4 separate regions of the Homo sapiens genome follow, and regions 1, 2 and 4 are each linked to region 3. The links are contacts of gene promoters, found by promoter capture Hi-C in blood cells and fetal thymus (Javierre and others, 2016). All regions are on one chromosome and are shown on one strand. Each heading gives the region's core, a stretch centred on a gene start or on the middle of the fragment in contact. The rest is flanking DNA. Distances are from core to core; before and after follow the strand shown.

Region 1 (2,938 bases), core at 154-2,653, 6.4 Mb after region 3:
GAAAAGAGCAAGACTCCGTCTCAAAAAAAACAAAAAACAAACACCAAAAACAAACAAAACAAAAAAAAAAGAGAGAGAGAACTTGCTTGAAATACCATGAAAGTGTGCCCTTCTTATCAGTTTTCCTTCAATGTTGAAGAAGAAGCCAACTGTTTCCTAAAAATCTCATTATCAGAACCAAATTTATGGTTATTTCACTTCTATTAATTTGATTAAATTAAAATTACCATCTTAAGATGCATAATTATATATACTAGGTGTTTTAAGACCTTCATCAATAAGTTTGGAGTTGTCATCCTACCACTTTCTTGAAACAGGTCTTCTAACTGTTTTCCTTCTGGATTTCTGGTTGAAATTTTGCTAGTGAAGTTTTCTCTCTCCCATTCAGTACTCACCCACCCCTCCTCACCCCCAATCATTAACAAGAAATCTGGGTTTAAGTGTATTTCTGCTACCATTGACTCACTGAAAGAATTTTTCAGGTGATATCCACACGTTTCTCCAATAAAAAGTTATTATTTTTTCCCTTTGTAGTAATTTGTGGAGAGATCTTCTGATGAAGGACCAAAATTCTGTGTCAAATTTTTACCCTCTAGTTTTAGCATTCATTTATGATTTTCTATGGATACTAGCTGGCATTCTATTTTAAGAAAAGCCTTTCTTCTTTCCTCATTTATTTATATTAATATAGATTGTTGAGTTTTATTTTAATCAATGGGTTATCCATTATGATGATTTATATTGATGGTAAAATTATCCCAGCTTCAGCCACTGGGAGACCCTTCAAGCTGGCAGCTGTGGACCTTTGACCAGTTCCTATCATTTTTTGAGCACTTCCGCATCTCTGGCACAACAGGTTCATCTTGTACTTTACAGCCCCAGCCCTGGTATCAGCCTTTTCTCCAGAGGTTGTGTCAAAAAGCCGTGGTTCCTCTTATTGGAGCATAGGATTTAGAAACCAAGACTTGGGTGCTAGATGTACTACTGGCCTTTCATTGCTTGAGCCAGAAGAATTTAATATCTTCTTTTGCCATATATCAGCTAGAACTTACAAACCACTCCAAGTCTGGCTCCAGAAAACAGAATTTTTATATCCTTTCTCAGTACTCTGAGTCAGAATGACCCACTTGCTTTGTCCAGAGACTCGTCACACTGAAACTATTTTCCGTTTGAGACCTTCCAGGAGGAAAGCCATCCTCACACGCATGCAGTACAAACCAGTGTCCTCCAGAGTCCGCTGTGCCTACGGCCAGAGCAGCGACAGAGCCTTCCTCAAACCTGTAGTGACTGCCACACTTTGCAAGGACACCGTAGAGGGGGCATGTCCGCGCTCCAACTTCCTCCCGACGCAGCCTCTGATTGGCTCCTGGGCTTATAAGAAACGCGTGAATGAGCAGCTGCCGCGGGCAGAAAGTTGCCGGAGGTCTCCGGGTGGTATCGCCCTTTCCTCTTTGCCAGCCCGCTGGCGAGCCGAGCCAGGGCAAGATGAGGTCGTCCTGTGTCCTGCTCACCGCCCTGGTGGCGCTGGCCGCCTATTACGTCTACATCCCGCTGCCTGGCTCCGTGTCCGACCCCTGGAAGCTGATGCTGCTGGACGCCACTTTCCGGGGTGCACAGCAAGTGGTGAGGTGCAGCCCAGCGCTGCTTCTCTCTTCCTCCTCTTACGCAATATTTGAAGGGGATACAAAATTCCTCCGCCGGGTTCCACGAAAACGCAGGTTTTTCCTAATGCATTGAGGCTGTCGCTTTTTGAGGTGGTCCAGTCGGGAATTTTCAGGGTATCGCATTCGCCTCCTTGCTAGCAGCGGGCTAGATCTGCATTTCCCCGTCTGCGTTTGTGACGGGGAAGAAGTGCTTGAATAGAATTTGACAACTGTTTAAACCTTCGTCTGTCCTAAATATCTTCCTCTTCCTTGGTTTGCAACGTCAAAAGGCAAATCCTTAAGCAGTTTATAAACCACCCTTCTTCACACTGTCGTTCTCCCATAGGGACCGGCAGAGGATAAATATTTTTAGGAGAGCTCGGGAAAAGCAGGCTCTGGTTCCTGGGAATGCAGCCACCTTAGAAGCAGAAGCAGGCAAGGGCAGTCTCGCAATGTCCCCAGGCTGTGGAGCGCTCCGTTCCCGGAGACAGCAGGCAGGGCTCTCCATCCAAGCACTTGAGGAACCATAGGGATCTCTCGTTTCACCCGAGGCAGATCTCAGCTCAGCCCAAGAAAGAGGACTGGGAGGCTGGGCTGGCTGAAAGGAGGTGAGGAGGCGGCAGCCCTGGTTTGCATGATGCATGTTTTCTGCTTGCCCTGCAGCATTTATTTTATGTCCTTGGCTGTCAGATAACCTTTTCCTGAGCGAGGTTACCTGCCTTAACCTGGGAGGGTAACATTTCTCTCCACTGTATCATGGGCGTGTGTTCATTCCTTCCATACACAGGAAAATATAACTGTCTCTGGTTTATTCCATGGTAAGAGGCATTATTTTTAGTGTCAGAGAATCTAAAATCTAAACTACAGTCTGCAGCCAAGGCTGAGCCCTCTGATTGGACAGTATTTCTGAGCAGCCTGCTCTATCTAAACTCTAACCTTCTCCAAAACCAAGCCTCCTCCCTCCCCACAACCTTGGGCTTTAATCTCAGAATATTTTTATAAACTCTTTCTTTCAGAAATGACAACTAGAGAAAGAGAAAAAAAATCATTTCAACCTGAGAAAGCTGATTTTAAAAAAGTCATGATTTTCCCAGAGGGTTTATGTTCCTGTTCCCTGTCCACTCATTATGTGTAGGATTACATAATCTGTGGGGCTTTATCCTATGAAAAGTCCCCTTACTAGGATATTGCAGCACATTCCTAGCGTGGATTTGCTTTTCCTGAATTCAGCCACATTCTCACCTCCAAAGCCCCTTTTGTCTCTTAGGAAAGGTCTATGAAGCTATAGACCCCTG
Region 2 (3,048 bases), core at 495-2,994, 6.6 Mb after region 3:
CACCTGATTTAAAAAACTCATTCAGTCTAGGACTTAGAGTGTAAGTGTGTTCAAATAGTGTTAGGTTCACATAATGTCTAAAACTTTTAGTAGGAAAAATGCTACCTTGCCAATTTGTCTGTGTCTGAAAGGAATTTGCATTTAAAAATTTGGCAATTTGACAGAGGCAAATTTAAAATTTGAAAATATTTTCTTAAATATAGACTCATTTACAGATAGAAGGCAAGGGCAGGAAGTGATGGTGACCAGCGGTGCCTGAATGAACTCAGGAATGTAACTGTAGATCTAGGGTCCCAAACTTTAGGTTTCAAAGGATCTCTTGGAGTACTTGCTGAAAAATGTAGGTTCCTAAGTCCACTGCCAGAAACTCTGACTCAGTGGGTCAAGAATGGAATAACTAAACAATGGCCCCATGCAGTGGTTCATGCCTGTAATCCCAGCACGTTGGGAGGTTGAAGCAAGAGGATCACTTGAGGTCAGGAGTTCGAGACCAGCCTGGCCTACATGGTAAAACCCCATCTCTACTAAAAATACAAAAAAATTAGCTGGGCATGGTGGCATGCACCTGTAATCCCAGCTACTTGGGAGGCTGAGGCAGGAGAATTGCTTGAATCTGGGAGGTGGAGGTTGTAGTGGGCCGAGATTGTGCCATTGCACCACTGCACTCCAGCCTGGGCGATAAAGTGAGATTCTGTCAAAAAAATAAATAAATACATGAAAGAGAGAAAGAAAGAAAGAAAGAAAGAAAGAAAGAAAGAAAGAAAGAAAGAAAGAAAGAAGGAAAGAAGGAAAGAATAGAAAAGAAAAGAAAGAAAGAAAGAAAGGAAGAAAAGGAAAGAAAGAAATGCTGAATAAGATATAGAGACAACATACAGCTGGGCCAGCTTATGACATCTGATAGTGGGGAGATTTGGGGCTGGGTCCTGAATCTGAGGGTAATTAACTCCCTGTAACTTCTTTTCCTAATCTGTAAAAGGATAGTGACAGCGAGACATTGTGATGGGGTTAATATTTTGGAAAACATCCACATGTTTTTTTCCTTTGCCTTTCTGAGTGTGTCAACTACTTCCTACCTGTCCAGCCTAACACACAGGCATGTTGTCTTGGTAGGGATGGAGATCTGAGAAGGAGATTAGAATTTGTGTCTGAAGGTTTGCAAAGAGGAAGAAGTCGTCAATATTTAGATTCTGACATTCAAGATGGAATTATGTAGCAAGACCATTGCTATGAGACAGTATTTCTATTTTCCTTTATCCACTCCCACCCTGCCCTCTTCCCACCCTCACAGTAGCATGAGAAAAACCACATATGGAAGTTTCAGGTCATAAAAATTATCTTATAATTTAGAAAACAGGCCTTGTGCCTATGACAGCCAGGCCATGAGGCTTAGAGCTCTGTGGTAGAATGAGGATATGTTAGGGAAAAGCAAAGAAAATCCCTCCCCTCTTTGGCTGAGGACATTATCAAAAGGAGAGCAAGAAAGAGAAGAGAGAAATGGGCTTGAGGTGAGTGCAGATAAGGGGTGCATGGATCCTGAGGGCAAGGAGAGGAGCTTCTTTCAGTTTCCCTCCTTTCCAACGACTACTTTGAGACAAGAGCTGTCCCTGGGCAGTAGGAAAGGGGAGGGACAGTTGCAGGTTCAATAGATGTGGGTGGGGCCAAGGCCACAGAACCCAGAAAAACAACTCATTCGCTTTCATTTCCTCACTGACTATAAAAGAATAGAGAAGGAAGGGCTTCAGTGACCGGCTGCCTGGCTGACTTACAGCAGTCAGACTCTGACAGGATCATGGCTATGATGGAGGTCCAGGGGGGACCCAGCCTGGGACAGACCTGCGTGCTGATCGTGATCTTCACAGTGCTCCTGCAGTCTCTCTGTGTGGCTGTAACTTACGTGTACTTTACCAACGAGCTGAAGCAGGTCAGTGCAGTGCAGTGCACTCAGTCTTCGAGGCGCTTAGCAAATGTCTGGTTACCTGCTTCTTTGCATGTCAGCTTGCCCCTCTCTGAAGACTTTCCTGCTTCCTTTCTCTGTGGGTACACTCTAACTGCTAAATCACATAACAACTGAGGTCTTTGCAAAACTGTAAGTTCAAGAAATTGTGTAAACTAAGTGCAGTTACACAACTGGCTTCACTAGTTACTAGCAGATGTGGGCAACAAAACTCCTGAGGGATTTTTTGTTTTTAAAAGTATGTGTATTTTATAATATCAGCCATTGCAACTCTTCATGAAAGCTTTCTGCTAAATGCTTTGTAGTTCTTTTGTTTTCCTTTTCCAAACTTTTATTTGTGCACATTCAATTGAAAAAGATAATTTTTACAGGTTCTTTGGTGCCCATTTTCAGCATACAAAAATGTAAAAGACTATTCACAGATAAAACACATTAGCTCAAAATGGAAAAAAATAACAATGACAACAATAAAACAACCTAAGGTAGTGCACACTGTGACAGCTCTGCTTATGGGGACATGAGAATTCCTGCGAAAATAAATAGAATGTCCTTTTGTAAAAGCAGCAATGACATGTCTTGTAAACTTCCTTTTTTATATTATAACAAGGTTTGGAATAAAATCCAAAGGGACTGGAGCTTACACTGTAGCCATGAATAAATAAAAGAGTCTATTTCCTCAATTACCGTTGGTTCAGTTTTCCTTTTGAGTCCAATGTGCAGCAGGTTTTAAAAGGTGCACAGTAAGAGATTCTAACCAATTAAGTGGTGAATGATAAAATTTCTTTCCTGCTTTCAAACACAAATGGGTAAATCTGTTCCACAGCAGTAGCAACAGCCTTTAAATAGGGCCTTGTTACTGTGATACTTCCTGTCGAAAAAATCTGTAATGTAGCTCTTAGAGTCTTTATCCAATAGCACACAGCAGGATGAAGTTCAGATTCATAACTCACATGAGGTCTATTGCTCTTTGTGAATTCTGGCAAACAGATTTCTTTATTTTTAAATTTTTTTATTTTACTTTAAGTTCTGGGATACGTGTACAGAACGTGCAGGTTTGTTACATAGGTATACATGTGCCATGGTGGTTTGCTGCA
Region 3 (3,042 bases), core at 84-2,583:
CCACACAAACTATGATTCAAAACATCGTTCCGAAAACCCAGGTCCTGCATGTGCACAAAGGCGCAGTGCTGGAATGAGGAAGCTTCACCAAGATGAAATCACAACTCTAATTCATTAAAGAATATGCAGACTGTTTTCTAGAAAGACCCTCTTGTTGCGCTCCCTTTACCCTACCCTTTATTTAACCATGTAAACAGTCTCAATTATTGACATAAAAAAATAGCTTTCGATTCCCAAGTCTGGTAACACGGTTGGCCACCATCACTATTCCTTTAGCATCCTAAAATAAACCCCTCGAGCCGAGGTCAAAAACACGCCGGCTGAACGTCTGGTGTTTACATAGCCCAATCCCGGGCCCTACCCTACCTTTCCGAGCCACTTAAGAGCCATGGAACAGGCATCACATAATACACTTAGTAAAGAGACAAGTCACATGAGTCAGTGTCTCAGGTCTATGAATGAAAGATCTAAGCGTTTGTCTCAGCTAAAAGGAAAAAACAACCTCGAAAGGAAGGGTGGGAGGGGAGCTGGCGGGGGTGAGGGGAGCGGTGTTCCTTCCATACCCCTGCCGGGCGATTTAAACCCAGTAAGAGGCAAACGCAGGGCCGCCAGGCTGGCGGGGCCGGAGTCCTCGGGCGTGACAGCCCCTCAAGAAAAGCTCGCGGTTTCGCGCCCGCGTCCCTTGAGCCGCAGTCCTCGCGGCAGCCCCTCCACCCGCGGGCTGGGTGGGCGTGCAGGGCGCGGGAGACAGAGCCACCGCGGCCGGGGCGGCGGCCCTGGGCGCACTTCCTCAACCTCCAGCCGCCCCGTCCCCAAAACTGGGAGTAGAAGCAAAGGAAGAGCGAGGCGGCAGCCAGAGAGAAAGGAGAGGGAGCGGCGAGCCCTCGCCTCTGCAGCTAGGAGAGGCCAGAGGCAGGCGAGGGAGAGGGTGCGGCGATCGCAGGCGAACTCCGCCGCGGGCCGACGCTGGGAGACGACCAGCCCGTAGCCTCCGCCCAACACGGCGGGCGCGCCCGGGAGTCTCCGGCACCCACCCGGTCCCCATTCCCACCGCACCCGCTACCGGCCAGTCCGCGCTCTACTCACGCTCGGGGCTCTTCCAGGCTCCGCGGCTCTAACCGCATCGGGTCCCAGCCCCGCGGGCGGCGGCGGCGGCGCCGAGGGAGAGGAGAGCGGGCGGCACGGCCCCCGCCTCCCGGCCCCTCTCCCCCGCCGCTCCGGAGCTGCCCGGCCGGGCCCGAGCCCTGCCTCGCCGGCGGCCCCAGCCCCAGTCCCAGCGGCCGCGGCAGCAGCAGCCCGACACCTCAGCGGCCGCAGCGGCGGCACCGGAACTGCCGCTTTCTACTTCTCGCTCCCTCTCCTCGCTAGCCCCCGCCACACGCCCCCGCCCCCGACTCCTTTCTCCGTCGCCCCTGTTTTTTTTTCCTTTTGTTTCCAGAATAAACTTTATTGGTCTCTTTTTCCGCTCACATCGTGTAAACAAACAACGAACTCTTCCCCACCCCCTCGGCCCCCCCCCTCCTCCGGCAGAAGAGGGTAAGAGCTGAGGAGGGGCAGAGCCTACAATCCCCCGGAAGCAGATGCGCAAAGAAGCGGAAGCGAAATTGAGGCGAGGAGGAGCAGGGAGTGGGCAAATAGGGTAACAATATGTGCTACTGCGCCTGCGTCTTGCTTTTCCGCCCGAAGTTTATGTACAGTTGGGGCTGCTCTTCTGACGTTTGTTTAATGATCCGTCTTCTGCAGTAGTGAGGGTGTTGTGTCATCCTAGGACAGCGTACGTGTAGTATATTTGTTTCTACGAGCAGCAGGCGAGCTGGGGTAGAGATATAGAAAGGAATATTGGGAGCAAGTGGGTTATTTCACTTTTACACCCATAGAGGAAACGAGATTAGTTCGGGGGTGAGAGGAGGTGCGGTGGCTAACCGCCGCTGTCAGTGGCTAACCAGCGTGGTTATGGATTCTATAATAGAAAGAATGCTTTTTACAAAGCGTTGCTGTGCGTTCTTCTGCCGACATGGTTTAAGTTGTATACCATCCCGAAGGCGGAATGCACTGTCACAGCCCTCTGCAGTCCTTTGACTCACTTCGTGGAGACCTTTTGCTATGCCCTCATTTTTTTTTTTAAATCGAATTCTGATTCGAAGCAGCTTGTAGGATTCAATTCTAACTATTCAGAAGACGTGGGGGATTTTTCGCGTAATGCCAACAGAGACTTCAGAAATGTCATATAGGCTATAGATTTGATTCAAGGTAGTGTCTTGGTGCTGCGTACCTTAGAAGTCTGTTTGCTTGAGAGTAAATCAATCTGTTGACTTTTGAGATTACTACTGATAAGGGTTCGGTACTGTGCGTTTTTCTCCCCCTACTGGTCTTTTGTTGTAATATTGGAAAAGCGTAGGAGCAGTGATTAGAAGTCTGAGATACAAGTACTCCAGCATCGGTTCCTCCTTGAATTTTTAAGTAATAGAGGGCTTGGGAAGTGACCCATCCTAGAGATGTTACAGTCCTACTTGTCCTCTAGAGCAAAACTCTGACCAATAACAGTCTTCTCGAACACCGCACGTCCGTCCATACCCCAATGGTAAATGAGATGGATCTGTTCCTCTTTGTGGTCGTAGTTTCACTTGACTGTATTTCTTTCTTTTCTGTGTTTTCTTTCTTTCGTCCTTTTTCTCCCTTTAGCTCGGATTTTCATCTCACATTCCAGGGGTTTGTGTTTCTAAATGTTTTTCTCGAACCAATGTTCTTCAACAGTTTTAGAACACTGTTACTCCAGAGTACAGATTTTTTTAAAAAAGGAACACTGAATTGCTAGTCAAAGTAAATTTTAAGGCAATATATCCCAAATTGTGTTTCAAGCACAGAGTTATATGAGATATTAATAGGTAGACCTTGGTGGGGAAAAATATACTAGGGATATTTTTCCTTATAAAATTTATTATTTATTTATTATTATTATTTTTTTGAGCCAGAGTCTCACTCTGTAGCCCAGGCTGGAGTTCAGCGGTGCAGTCTCGGCTCACTGCAGCCTCTGCCTCCCGG
Region 4 (3,297 bases), core at 798-3,297, 9.4 Mb after region 3:
AACCTCTTTCCCTGGTTTAGACAAGCGGTTAGTTAAGGATATAGCAAAGGTGGCTCCTGCCAACACCGCTGTGCAAGTTATAGCTCCTCCAGAAAGGAAAATATCAGTGTGGATGGGAGGTTCTATTCTTGCATCCTTGTCTGCCTTCCAGGACATGTGGATCACTGCTGCAGAATTTAAAGAAGTTGGACCCAACATAGTACACCAAAGATGCTTCTGAAATACAGATAAAATGGTTGGAAGAAAATGTTTTGAGTATATGTGACAGAAAACTTTGGATATTATATGTTTCTGGGAGAAGAGAAAATACTTCACCTATTGGGATGCCAATATTTCTGTTGTATTTCTATAATGGGTTTGGGGGATAATAATGGTGAAGCTCAAGAACAGATGTCTATTGAGTAGAACCAAGTTAAAATAATGTTTCCCATAGTGTTTCTTCTATAACTTGACGTTGGTGAGCTTATATTTCCCTTGGAAGAGAGCATTTGTGGTACAATATGCTATGTGCCAAATGAGTGATAAGATTTAAGCTTATTGAAGTTTAGGGAAAGAAGGTTGCTGTGGTGAGGAACGAGACTCCATAGCAGAGGTATGCCATCATGGAAGGGGTGGCATTGGGATGGAGCGCAGATATCCAGGCAAGCATACTAAAATGAACAAGTTGCTAAAGATGAGAATGAACAAAGCATATTCAGGGCATGTTTAATAGACTGATTTTGTTTTTAAAATTTTTGTTTATGTATGTATTTATTCATTTATTTAGTTTTAGAGGCAGAGTCTTGCCCTGTGTCCCAGGCTGGAGTGCAGTAGTGCAATCATAGCTCACTGCAGCCTCCAACTCCTGGGCTCTGCCCTCAGCCTCCCAAGTAACTGAATCCACAGGTATGCACCACCACGCCTAAGTTTAGACTGATTTTGTTCAAGTCAAGAGCTCATATAGAGCAGAACAAGCGCTATGACTAGCAAGGTTAAGTGAAGGCCAGGGACTGAAAGGCTTAAAGTGCTAAATATCCAATATGCAAAGGAGAGAAATTAAAGATTTAAAAGCAGGAGCCATAAGGAAACTATGTTATGATGAATGTGATAGTTTGGAGAATAAATTGAATGAGGAAGGCCCTGGAGATTTGGTGATCAGTTAGAAAGTTACTAGTCCACATATAAAGTGCCAAGTCTTGTACTCAAGATTATAAGCAATAGGAATTTAAAAAAAGAAATTATGAAAACTGACAAGATTTAGTGCCTACTTAGATATGAAGGGGAAAGAAGGGTTTGAGATAATGTGGGATGCTAAGAGAATGGTGGTAGTGTTGACATATAACTCAAAGCATTTAGCATCTACTCTATGTAAGGTACTGTGCTAAGTGCAATAGTGCTAAAAACAGGAGTCAGATTCTGTCCGTAAAAAACTTTACAACCTGGCAGATGCTATGAAAGAAAAAGGGGATGGGAGAGAGAGAAGGAGGGAGAGAGATGGAGAGGGAGATATTTTACTTTTCTTTCAGATCGAGGACCGACAGCGACAACTCCACGGAGTTTATCTAACTGAATACGAGTAAAACTTTTAAGATCATCCTGTCATTTATATGTAAAACTGCACTATACTGGCCATTATAAAAATTCGCGGCCGGGTGCGGTGGCTCATACCTGTAATCCCAGCACTTTGGGAGGCCGAAGCGGGTGGATCACTTGAGCCCTGGCGTTCGAGACCAGCCTGGGCAACATGGTGAAACCCCCGTCTCTACTAAAAACACAAAAACTAGCTGGGCGTGGTGGCAGGCGCCTGTAATCCCAGCTACTCAGGAGGCTGAGACACGAGAATCGCTTGAACCCGGGAGGCAGAGGTTGCAGTGAGCCGAGATCACGCCACTAGACTCCATCCAGCCTGGGCGAAAGAGCAAGACTCCGTCTCAAAAAAAAAAATCGTTACAATTTATGGTGGATTACTCCCCTCTTTTTACCTCATCAAGACACAGCACTACTTTAAAGCAAAGTCAATGATTGAAACGCCTTTCTTTCCTAATAAAAGGGAGATTCAGTCCTTAAGATTAATAATGTAGTAGTTACACTTGATTAAAGCCATCCTCTGCTCAAGGAGAGGCTGGAGAAGGCATTCTAAGGAGAAGGGGGCAGGGTAGGAACTCGGACGCATCCCACTGAGCCGAGACAAGATTCTGCTGTAGTCAGTGCTGCCTGGGAATCTATTTTCACAAAGTTCTCCAAAAAATGTGATGATCAAAACTAGGAATTAGTGTTCTGTGTCTTAGGCCCTAAAATCTTCCTGTGAATTCCATTTTTAAGGTAGTCGAGGTGAACCGCGTCTGGTCTGCAGAGGATAGAAAAAAGGCCCTCTGATACCTCAAGTTAGTTTCACCTTTAAAGAAGGTCGGAAGTAAAGACGCAAAGCCTTTCCCGGACGTGCGGAAGGGCAACGTCCTTCCTCATGGCCGGAAATGGAACTTTAATTTCCCGTTCCCCCCAACCAGCCCGCCCGAGAGAGTGACTCTCACGAGAGCCGCGAGAGTCAGCTTGGCCAATCCGTGCGGTCGGCGGCCGCTCCCTTTATAAGCCGACTCGCCCGGCAGCGCACCGGGTTGCGGAGGGTGGGCCTGGGAGGGGTGGTGGCCATTTTTTGTCTAACCCTAACTGAGAAGGGCGTAGGCGCCGTGCTTTTGCTCCCCGCGCGCTGTTTTTCTCGCTGACTTTCAGCGGGCGGAAAAGCCTCGGCCTGCCGCCTTCCACCGTTCATTCTAGAGCAAACAAAAAATGTCAGCTGCTGGCCCGTTCGCCCCTCCCGGGGACCTGCGGCGGGTCGCCTGCCCAGCCCCCGAACCCCGCCTGGAGGCCGCGGTCGGCCCGGGGCTTCTCCGGAGGCACCCACTGCCACCGCGAAGAGTTGGGCTCTGTCAGCCGCGGGTCTCTCGGGGGCGAGGGCGAGGTTCAGGCCTTTCAGGCCGCAGGAAGAGGAACGGAGCGAGTCCCCGCGCGCGGCGCGATTCCCTGAGCTGTGGGACGTGCACCCAGGACTCGGCTCACACATGCAGTTCGCTTTCCTGTTGGTGGGGGGAACGCCGATCGTGCGCATCCGTCACCCCTCGCCGGCAATGGGGGCTTGTGAACCCCCAAACCTGACTGACTGGGCCAGTGTGCTGCAAATTGGCAGGAGACGTGAAGGCACCTCCAAAGTCGGCCAAAATGAATGGGCAGTGAGCCGGGGTTGCCTGGAGCCGTTCCTGCGTGGGTTCTCCCGTCTTCCGCTTTTTGTTGCCTTTTATGGTTGTATTACAACTTAGTTCC

Evidence for each region. The method cuts DNA at HindIII sites, captures the fragments that hold promoters and counts their contacts. A CHiCAGO score of 5 or more calls a contact.
Region 1: a contact is called between the fragment with the promoter of NCEH1 here and the fragment with the promoter of PIK3CA in region 3, in 1 of 17 cell types (M0 macrophages). The highest score is 5.3, in M0 macrophages.
Region 2: the fragment with the promoter of TNFSF10 here is called in contact with the fragment with the promoter of PIK3CA in region 3 in 1 of 17 cell types (non-activated CD4 T cells); the score reaches 5.7 in non-activated CD4 T cells.
Region 4: a fragment that was not itself captured here is called in contact with the fragment with the promoter of PIK3CA in region 3 in 2 of 17 cell types (total CD4 T cells and M0 macrophages); the score reaches 5.5 in total CD4 T cells.

Annotation. Positions count from the first base shown.
Region 1 is chr3:172,709,532-172,712,469 of GRCh38, reverse strand. NCEH1 (neutral cholesterol ester hydrolase 1) reads left to right here and starts at 1,403. Exons shown (of 5, transcript NM_020792.6): 1 at 1,403-1,623. The coding sequence starts at 1,486. RefSeq lists enhancers at 953-1,092, 1,137-1,431, 1,353-1,622, 752-1,951. The HindIII fragment of the contact is 17,687 bases long and covers 1-2,938 here.
Region 2 is chr3:172,522,126-172,525,173 of GRCh38, reverse strand. It overlaps TNFSF10 (TNF superfamily member 10), which reads left to right and starts at 1,744. Exons shown (of 5, transcript NM_003810.4): 1 at 1,744-1,921. The coding sequence starts at 1,790. It also overlaps the pseudogene TBPL1P1. RefSeq lists an enhancer at 1,763-1,812. The HindIII fragment of the contact is 8,260 bases long and covers 1-2,239 here.
Region 3 is chr3:179,146,648-179,149,689 of GRCh38, reverse strand. PIK3CA (phosphatidylinositol-4,5-bisphosphate 3-kinase catalytic subunit alpha) reads right to left here and starts at 1,333. Exons shown (of 21, transcript NM_006218.4): 1 at 1,087-1,333. It overlaps PIK3CA-DT (PIK3CA divergent transcript), which reads left to right and starts at 1,717. Exons shown (of 3, transcript NR_125401.1): 1 at 1,717-1,774. RefSeq lists silencers at 709-758, 819-1,288 and enhancers at 470-969, 1,779-1,898, 2,509-2,618. The HindIII fragment of the contact is 3,906 bases long and covers 85-3,042 here.
Region 4 is chr3:169,764,355-169,767,651 of GRCh38, reverse strand. It overlaps ACTRT3 (actin related protein T3), which reads left to right. Exons shown (of 2, transcript NM_032487.5): 2 at 1-731. The coding sequence ends at 220. It also overlaps TERC. Among named protein-coding and RNA genes, the nearest start is that of ACTRT3, 3.6 kb to the left of the region's middle. RefSeq lists promoters at 2,156-2,660, 1,794-2,660, a silencer at 2,652-2,911 and enhancers at 2,424-2,963, 3,122-3,211. The HindIII fragment of the contact is 3,023 bases long and covers 536-3,297 here.